2 separate regions of the Homo sapiens genome follow, and region 1 is linked to region 2. Evidence: promoter capture Hi-C in human tissues and cell types (Jung and others, 2019). All regions are on one chromosome and are shown on one strand. Each heading gives the region's core, a stretch centred on a gene start or on the middle of the fragment in contact. The rest is flanking DNA. Distances are from core to core; before and after follow the strand shown.

What was found. Contacts are between HindIII fragments. The study calls those that stand out against the background at their distance.
Region 1: a contact is called between a fragment that was not itself captured here and the fragment with the promoter of ZNF879 in region 2, in 1 of the 25 tissues and cell types used here (spleen).

What each region holds. Positions count from the first base shown.
Region 1 is chr5:178,780,282-178,785,242 of GRCh38, forward strand. It overlaps the pseudogene AACSP1. Among named protein-coding and RNA genes, the nearest start is that of ZNF354A, 52 kb to the left of the region's middle. The HindIII fragment of the contact is 4,602 bases long and covers 52-4,653 here.
Region 2 is chr5:179,022,476-179,027,337 of GRCh38, forward strand. ZNF879 (zinc finger protein 879) reads left to right here and starts at 1,329. Exons shown (of 5, transcript NM_001136116.3): 1 at 1,329-1,429; 2 at 2,495-2,562. The coding sequence starts at 2,530. RefSeq lists an enhancer at 957-1,458. The HindIII fragment of the contact is 17,237 bases long and covers 1-3,824 here.

The sequences.
Region 1 (4,961 bases), core at 1,103-3,602, 240 kb before region 2:
GGCAAATCCTACCACTTGCTGCTTTCTGATTCTCCATACGTCTATGCTATGTGCCCCGCGTCCTTCTTTGCTCACTCACATTACCTTTTGAGAGACTGCAGCAAGCAAGTACTTAGTATAAATAACTCTGAAACAGAAGGTTTGCTAAACGATGAATTATATGGCAGCAATAACTTGAGACTGCTTATGAAATAAGATTAGAGGGAGGCAGGAATCAGAGCTTTAAATAAAAGACTTTCCTGCTTTGGGGCAAGGCACCACTCAAACCACACTCAGGGGTGTCAGTCTATGTGAGAGGGATGTGTCGGGTTGTAAATCCTTCCACCGCAAAAGCACTCTTCCTTAGCATCTCCACGAGGACTGGATGATGGTGAGACACACAGAGGAAGAGACCCGAGCCAGACACCACTTCCACATGCCGCTCCTCGTGAACAGGCAGGCATCACCCTGGCATCACCCTGTTTCAGCGAGTGGGCCCTGCACCCTCCACCTCCCACGTGCAAACCAGAGGCACATGCCAGCGCCCAGCAGCAGGGGCCGGGGCCCTGGGCAGAGGTGGCTGAGATTCAGCTAAACCCAGATTATAGTTACACATGATAGCTTCAAGCTGAAGACAAGATATTCATCAAAAATTGATTATCGCCCCACTGGAGGAATGAGCTATATGCAGCTTCTCCAAGCCCTGGTGGGGGAAGGAAGAGGGGAGGGGCAGGATGGGAGGGGAAGGACGAGGACACACGACTAGGCACGGAAGGCCCAGACAACGCAGAGGCTCGGCAGCTCTGTCTGCATCTCTCCAGCCGACCTGGGAATTTGGAGAAATACGCCTTCCTGTACTTGTTGCCGTTCTCATTGTTCCAGAAGTGTGTGGGCTGGCAAGGGATCGGCTTAGTACACACCAGCTTGCTGCTGTCTCCCCCAGACCGCCTTTCCTGGTATGGGAGAATTAAAAATAAGCCCAACACACACCACAGCCACACACTGGCTCTCTCTTCTCTCTTAAGCTATTACTTATTACGCAATATTCCAGACATACACAAAGGTACAGAGATGGTCCACGCCCACACACCTCTCACGGGAGCCTAATAATGTGTTCCTCCCATGAAGTCCCCTCCCTGTGTGCTCCCCAAAATCGCTGTCTCGGACATAGTGATTTGTTATTCCCATGTGTGTTAACATTTTTGCTCCATCCATACGCATCCCTGAATACTATGTGTCATCACTTTGCATACCTTTGAACACACACACGCTGTCCTTCTATGTGTCCCGCGTCTTCCTGTGCTCACTCAACATGACATCTGGGTGGCTCGTTCGGGCTACTACCTGTCGCTCTGGTTCATTCCTATTTACCGCTTGGTCATTTGCCATGTGTGATCACAGAACTTCTGCCCAAGGATGGACATTTCTATTGTTCCCAATTTTGTTTTCATTACAAATCATGGGGCTACAAACATTCTTGCATGGATCACAAGTCTGTCTTCCGTAAGCGGAATTCCTAGATCACAGGGCACATATGCATCTTCAGCTTCACTGACTGCTCCCGCATTGCTCTGCAGAACAGGTGCACTGAGCCCTGCTCACCCTTCCTAGCACAGCTGGGTTTCTAGCTGCCAGGCACAGCACAGCAGGAGACTATCCCTTCCATGACCGGGCTCTCAGATGCTCAGAGCCGGCCGCTGCCTGTGTATCCAGCACCAGGGTTCAGATTCAGGGCAACGATCACCCACTTGCCCGACGTTCCTGAGCACACAGCTCTCTGTCCTCCAGCTCGACCCTGACCTCTCAGGAGCTGGGGACCAGGAGCCGGTGGGTGTTAAACCAAGCTGGGGGGGAAGGACATCACGCTGCAAGTGACAGGGGCCTCCCTCCAAGGGCTGTTTTGGAGAACTATCACCAAGCAAAGTTACACATCCGAGCGCTCCCAAGCTCCCAACTCACGCCTAATCACAGGAAGAAACAGTTGGCGGAGCCATCACCTTCCTCATTCCACGCATCCACGGCCATGCCCAGGTTCCAGGCCTGAATCTCCCCTTTATACACAGGAAGAGAAATATTCTGGCCCATGAAGCAGGAGGTGATGTCGGTGCCTCCCGCAAGCAATGACAAAAGGAGAGTCGAAATTCAGAAGCCCAAGACAAATTGCTTTTAAGTCAGTAAGCAACAAAAGAGAAAGTGCAAAGACGACAAACATCTACTCTCCCAGACAAACACTGCAACATCCCAGACAGGTGGGGCTTCTTTTCAGGCAGCAGTGGGAGAGGTGATATGGAAATTAGAATGAACCCCCCTCATCTGGTGATTGACGTTTTGGCCGAGCCTTGCTGTTGGAGGATGCACTAAGTAAATGACTTCTTGTGGTCACACTGAAATTCAAGATTCAGGATCGCAGAAAATGGAAGCTTTGCCTGTGGTAACCACCCAGCAGACGCTGCCTATGCGGACTCATCACGTGGGAAGGCTTGCACGCCATGGTTTACGTGGACTTAACGGTTGGAAAAACAGAAACGTGGCCGGGCACGGTTGCTCATGCCTGTAATCCTAGCACTTTGGGAGGCCGAGATGGGTGGATTACCTGACCTCAGGAGTTCAAGACCAGCTTGGGCAACATGGTGAAACCCCATCTCTAGTAAAAATACAAAAAATTAGCCAGGCATGGTGGTGTGTGCCTGTAATCCCAGCTACGCAGGAGGCTGAGGCATGAGAATCAGTTGAACCCAGGAGGCAAAGGTTGCAGTGAGCTGAGATTGTGCCACTGCACTCCAGCTTGGGTGACAGGGAGAGATTCTGTCTCAAAAGCAAAAAAACCAGAAACGTTCCCAGCTGCAAAGACCGTGGAGTGTGATGTCTCACACAAGAGACTATGCTACATGGAAAAACACTCCTGTTTCTGGAATGAGCTGGAAATGGAGTCAGCCTCCATGGGCCATCATGCAGGGGAGCAGCGTGAACCCTCCAACTTAGGCCCGCTGCTGACAACAGCCAACAGCCATCCCCTGACCCAAAAGCCTGTGTGGGAAGGGAAACAGCAGCAGGGTGAATCTGCAGGAGGGCAAAGACCCTCACACTATACACACACATGCACACACACACATGCATAAACACACCATACATACACCACACACCACACACACACACAGGTGTACACACACATGCATACACCACACATACAGCCACACACGAGCACAGCAAGGGCAGGACACGCTGAGGAACATACAGCACACACGCACACACACACCACACATACATGCACACACAACACACACACATGCACACACCACACATGCATGCATTCACACACACACGAGCAGAGCAAGGGCAGAACACGCTGAGGACGGGGTCACTCCACTCCCACAGGGAAGAAAGCCAAGAGTGTGAGGGGGGTGGCAAGGAGCCCCCTCCCTAGCCCCGTGCCTGGTGTCTGAACTTTTTCTTTGAAACAGGGTCTCACTCTGTTGCTCAAGCAGGAGCTCAGTGGTGTGATCTTAGCTCACTGCAGCCTTGACCTCTTGGGCTCAAGTGATCCTCCCACCTCAGCCTCCCAAGCAGTTGAGACTACAGGCACACACCATGCCCAGCTAATTTTTTTTTTTTGAGACAGAGTCTCACTCTGTCTCCCAGGCTGGAGTGCAGTGGCACAATCTCGGCTCACTGCAACCTCCACCTCCCCAGTTCAAGTGATTCCTGCCTCAGCCTCCCGAGTAGCTGGGATTACAGGCATATGTCACCATGCCTGGCTAATTTTTGGGGTTTTTTTGGTAGAAATGAGGTTTCACCATGTTGACCTAGCTGGTCTCGAACTCCTGACCTCAAGTGATCTGCCCGCTTCAGCCTCCCATAGTGCTGGGATTAAGGCGTGACCACACCGCCTAGCCACGGCTAATTTTTTTTTTTTAAATTTTTTGTAGAAACAGGGTCCCACTGTTGCTCAAGCTAGTCTTGAACTCCTGGGCTCAAGCAATCCTTCCGGCTCGGCATCCCGAAGTGCTGGGATTACAGTTGTGAGCTACTGTGCCCGGCCCAGGCTACTCTTTATACTCAACTCACATACGTGAAAAAAAAATTTCATAAAGCAAATGTTTTCCCTAATCAGGCTCCGCGTGTATGAACTGGGAGTGTGGGGGTGTTCAAGATCCACATGAAATGACTCGATGGCTCCAAAAACCAGAAGGGTTGATTTTGGCTTCAACTCTAAGATGATTTTATTTCTTCCTTCAGGCAAAGAATAAAAGGTGATGTCTTCTCTGCCATTTCATGTCACTGACTGACGTGTCCCATGAAAATGAGTGAGTCACATTCATTTCTGCCACCATTAAGGTCTGAGCAGGGCTCCTGACCTCCTTCCTGCTGGTAAGAATGGCTCAGACCCCCCACCTCAGGCTGAGGAACCAACAGTGGGGAGGAAAGCTGGAGGGTTGGCCTCAGGCTTTGGGCAAACATATCCCTTAAAGAGGTGCTCTGAGAGTATGTTTTCAAATCACAAGGAGAAAAATCACAACTACAGATGTGTAAAAAGAAAATAAAAGTGAGCTAGGCCAGGCACGGTGGTTCACGCCTGTAATCCCAGCACTTTGGGAGGCCGAGGCGGGAGAATCACTTGCGCTCAGGAGTTCAAGAACACCCTAGGCAACATGGTGAAACCCCGTTTTCACAAAAAATAAAAAAACATAGCTGAGTGTGGTGGCATGCACCTGTGGTCCTAGCTACACAGGAGGCTGAAGTGGGAGGATCACTTGAGCCCAGGAGGCTGAGGCTGCAGTGAGCCATGATCGTGTCACTGTGCACTTCAGCAGGGGCAACAGAGCAAATCCCTGTCTAAAAAACAAACAAAAAACAAACAGTGACCCAAAGATTTCTATGGGCAGCAATGGAATCAACTCTAAGTCCCATTAAGGAGAAGTGAGGTATGTACCCTAAACTACAGAAAATGGGGGTGCTCTCACCCCATTTACACACACTCACAA
Region 2 (4,862 bases), core at 79-2,578:
GTGTTAATTCTACATTTAATTTTTTTTTGAGGAACTGCCATACCGTTTTCCAGCGCAGCGCTACCATTTTACATTCCCACCATTAAGGCACAAGGATTGTTTTCTGGTTTTCTTTTTTTTCCAAATTTTATAATAGCCAACCTAATGAGTGTGAAATCGCAGTGGATGTTTGATCTGCTTTGATCTGCATTCCCCTAATGATTAGTGATGTGCATTATTATCTTTTAACAATATAAAACATCCATTTTGTTCGATTTAATTATTTTTACATTGCAATAATCTTTGTATTGTTGTAACATCGTGATCCAAGATTTCTTTTTCATATTATCTACCTGATATCTCTTAGTCCCTCTCTGCATTTTCTATCTTCAAGTACCCTTTGTGTTTAGGTTTGTCTCTGTAAACGCTAATGTTTGATATTTTAAAAATCAACACTTTCTGAGCACATAGTATTTGGCGTGTACAGTGCCGGTCACCGAGGATGCAGTTGTGATGATAGCGCTGGGAGTTGGGCTTTATTTTACGTTTTAAAGAAGTCACTTCAAAAGAAGTGAGTGCCATGAAGAGGGAAATACTAGGCTTATGCTTTTGTTTTACTCTGAGTGCCAGTAAATATGTAAAGATTACAAAAATTTATTTATTTATTTATTTATTTATTTGAGACAGAGTCTTGCTCTGTCACCCAGGCTGGAGTGCAATGGCGCGATCTGAGCTCACCGCAACCTTCGCCTCCCAGGTTCAAGCGATTCTCCTGCCTCAGCCTCCCGAATAGCTGGGATTACAGGCATGTGCCACCACGCCCGACTAATTTTTCGTGTTTTCGTAGAGACAGGGTTGCACCATGTTGGCCAAGATGGTCTCGGTCTCCTGACCTTGTGATCCGCCCACCTCGGCCTCCCAAAGTGCTGCGATTACAGGCATAAGCCACCGCGCCCGGCCGAGATTATAAAATTTAGACATAATTCATTTTTAATTAAAATCGCAGAATGGACTGTAATAGTTCTGTCACCACCTGCGAATAATCAGCAGCGGCTAGTCTTCCAGATTTAAAAATTCATACTCACTTTTCCGTCTTACTATTTTTGTCATTCTAATTACGAATACAATGGGTGGTTTAGCGGAGGGAGAGTAGTTGGAGCCCAAGCTGAGGGACTCGGCTTCAGCCTTCTCGAACTCCACAGCCCGACCGCGTTCTCCGCTCTCGGCGCTGTGGTTCTCTCTCGGACACCGTAAGTGGTGGTGCCGCAGCGACGTCTGGGAAATGAAGTCCGGAGGGACAAACGCTGCGGTTCAGCCAGGGAAACCCGTCGGCTCTCCGGCGCGCAGGCGCAGTTGCGCCCGGCAGCGACGGGAAACGTCTCTGAATTAGGTGTTCCGCTCGCCTCTTGTGCGGTGTGGAGCTGCGCGCCCCCCGCCGAGGCGGGCCCAGGTACAGGCTGCCGGTGAGGGCGGGCCCGGGGCGTGCGGCTGCCGCGGCGGGACCAGGACGAGGGCTGGCCTCTGCGCGTGTCTGCCGAGTCCCCGGCTCCGGGCGTCCGAGCCGGGGCGGCCTCGGCAGGTGAACCCGGCCCCGGAGGGGGCGTGGCCTGGGAAGGGCCTGGCGGAGGCCGGGAGGGCGCTTCGACGCCGCTGGACTCCTGGGCCGCAGCCTGGGCCGGACTCCGGGGGAAACGGCTCCAGAACAGAAACTGCAAAATGCCGCCTCGGTTCAGGGTCCGGAGCCCTCCGGGCGGTTTTTCGCTCTTAGTGTTTGTGGGTTTAAGCCTCCCCCTACTCCGTTTCCCGGAGTTTAAACTTTAGATTTACTCGTTTTTGGCAGTCTTGCACGTTTGGCAGTGTTTTCCTACAGCCAGTCCTAGAGTGATTTAACTATTTCTTTTTTTATTTACCGTAACCATGTCCACTTGCTACGTTTCTTCCCATTTCTCTAAATTTTAAATCAATTTCTAGCTAGTGATGCTGTTTTCTTGCGCCCTTGTTTTTTTGGGGCCAGGGAGAATGGGTAACGCTACCTTTAAGCAGCTTTGATAACTGTTTTTGATAAAGGAAGTAAATCTTACAAGAGGAAGAAAAGAGGACTAATTTTTGGTTGGCTGTTCCTAAAAAAGAGCATCAGTTCTTCAACTGCTGTTTTTCGTATTGAACAACATCCAAGTGCAGATGTGTGGAATATTGTGTCATTTCCTATTACTTTATCTGAATGAGCCTTGCCTGATTCTGCCCTTGACCCTGTTAAGGCACGGCAGATGGTCTTCATCCCTTCGCTCCTTTCGTCTTTATCGTAAAGCACTGGCAGAAAGGTAGCAGGCCCGGTGACTCTGAACCTGCTTCCCACACTGGTTTAAGTGGCCGGACTTAGGGCCCCTCTGGCCTGGGCAGTTCCAGGCTCCTTCTCTGCAGGTGCTCAGCTTATGGCTTCTAACCTGGTCTGGCCTAATGAGGGTGGGCATGCAGGCTGGATGAAAAGACCTCACAGCTTTTTTCTCCATTCCAGGTGCCTTCTCCAAGAGAGGCAGCAGGGAGGGAGAAATGGCAAGGAGGTTGCTGCCAGCCCATGTACAGGTGAGTGAAGGCTTCTTTTTGCTTGAACTGCCTTCAGGGTCTAGACGTGGTAAACTTCTTCATCTGTTGTTGAGCTTCTCTACCCAGTGAAGCTCAGGGAAGGACCAGAGGGCTTGGTAGCTGAGAAACTCTGGAAGGAAGGTGTTTCCCTTGCCTCAGAGCCTGTCTCATGCTTTTTTTTTTTTTTCTTTCCCTTTTTTGAGACAGGGTCTCACTCTGTTACCCAGGCTGGAGTGCAGTGGCACGGACATGGCTCACTGCAGCCTCAACCTCCCTGGTAGCTGGGACTACAGGCATGTGTGCCACCACACCCAGCTAATTTTTGTATTTTTAGTAGAGACCAGGCTTCAACAAGTTGGCAAGGCTGGTCTTGAACTCCTGACCTCAAGCAATCTGCCCGCCTCAGCCTCCTAAAGTGTTGGGACTATGGGCGTGAGCCACCGCGCCCGGCCCCCAGTCTCATGCTTTTTGACAAAGAATTTAATGGGGCTCCAATGCCAGGCCACTGCCACTACCAGAGCTTTGTGAAAGATCCAGGTGTTTTTGCCCTGTGGAGGACAAAGACACGGAGGAGTTAAATAATTCCTTCCTAACACGGGGAATTTGAAAAAGAGAGGCCCTGTATTCCCAGGACCTTGGGAGGCCAAGGTGGGCAGATCACTTGAGGTCAGAAGTTCAAGACCAGCCTGACCAACATGGTGAAACCCGGTCTCTACTAAAAATACAGAAGTTAGCTAGGGATGGTGGTGCATGCCTATAGTCCCAACTGCTCTGGAGGCTGAGGCAGGAGAATCACTTGAACCCGGGAGGCAGGGGTTGAAGCGAGCGGAGATCATGCCACTGCACTCCAGCCTGCGTGACACAGCGAGACTCCGTCTCAAAAAAAAAAAAAGCCAGGTGTGGTGGGTCTGGTGGTGCGCTCCTGTAATCCCAGTTAGTCCGGAGGCTGAGGCAGGAGAATCACTTGAACCCGGAAGGTGGAGGTTGCAGTGAGCTGAGATTGTGCCATTGCACTCCAGCCTGGTGACAGAGCAAGACTCCATCTCAAAAAAAAAAAAAAAAAAACAAAGAAAGAAAAATATGTCTGAAGGAGATAAGCTTTGTACGCCTTTGTGATTCTGTACAGGATGCTCAATTCAGCATTTCTAGAGTATGAACAAAGTGCAAACAACCTAAACATCCAGTGCTAGGGGAGTTACATAAACTAGATCATCTGTACACTGAACTACTGGGCAGCATGTAAACAGTGGTGACCAGGATGCTGTTATTTGTATAATGTGATTTTATTTTTATTTAAATATAGAACCATATTTGCATGAAAATCACCTGAAGAGACATAGCAAAAAGTTAACTTTTTCTGGTGGTAGAAAGTTAGATGAGCACTTCTTGTTGTTTTGCTTATTGATCTTTTAGAATTTTCTAGTAAGCTTTTTTAAGATGATTCGTTTTGTTTTGTTTTTTAAGAGACAGGATCTTACTCTGTTGCCCAGGCTGGAGTGCAGTAGTGTGATCACACGTCACTGCAGCCTCGACCTCCTGGGCTCAGGCAAGCCTTTTGTCTCAGCCTTCTGAATAACCGGGACTACAGGCGCATGCCACCACACCCAATTAATTAAAAAAAAATTATTTTTTGCAGAGATGAGGTCTCTCTATGTTGCCCAGGCCGGTCTTGAACTTCTGGGCTCAAGTAATCCTCCTTTCTCGGCCTCCCAAAGTGCTGGGATTATAGGCGTAAGCCACTGTGCCCAGCCAAGAAGATGACTCTCAAGAAGGGGAGATGGCCCTAGTTCAGAGCAGTAACATGCCATCCAGTGAAGGAGGAGAGAGATAGAAGAACAGGAGCTTCTGGGGTGGGGAGGGAGACTACTGACCATAGCCTTCTCCTCTGGCTTGAAAGGTTATGTAGCCCACCACCTGGGACCTCTCCTGACACAGCCATGCCTGGAACATTCTCATAGCCTTCCCTACTGTGAATGTCAGTGTCATCTTTCCCAGGACTCATAGAGATGGCCCGAGTTGAGGCAGAACTAGGACTCAGTGACCGCCTTTCCCAGCAAGCCTGGTGGTGTTCCACCTATATCTCCCTCAGTGAATGTGCTGGTGCCTCCTTCCGAAACCTGACTGTCAGGTGTGACCTGTAAGATGAGGGTTTGGTCTAGGTGATCGGACGTTTCCAAATCTAAAGTTCAGTGTTTTCTTGCTCTGATTTTGTTTCATGGGTTCAAGTGCTTCTCTTGGTTGGCCTCTGTGTTCAAGCTTCCTGAGGGGACGGTGTTTCACTCACCATAGGTAAATGATAA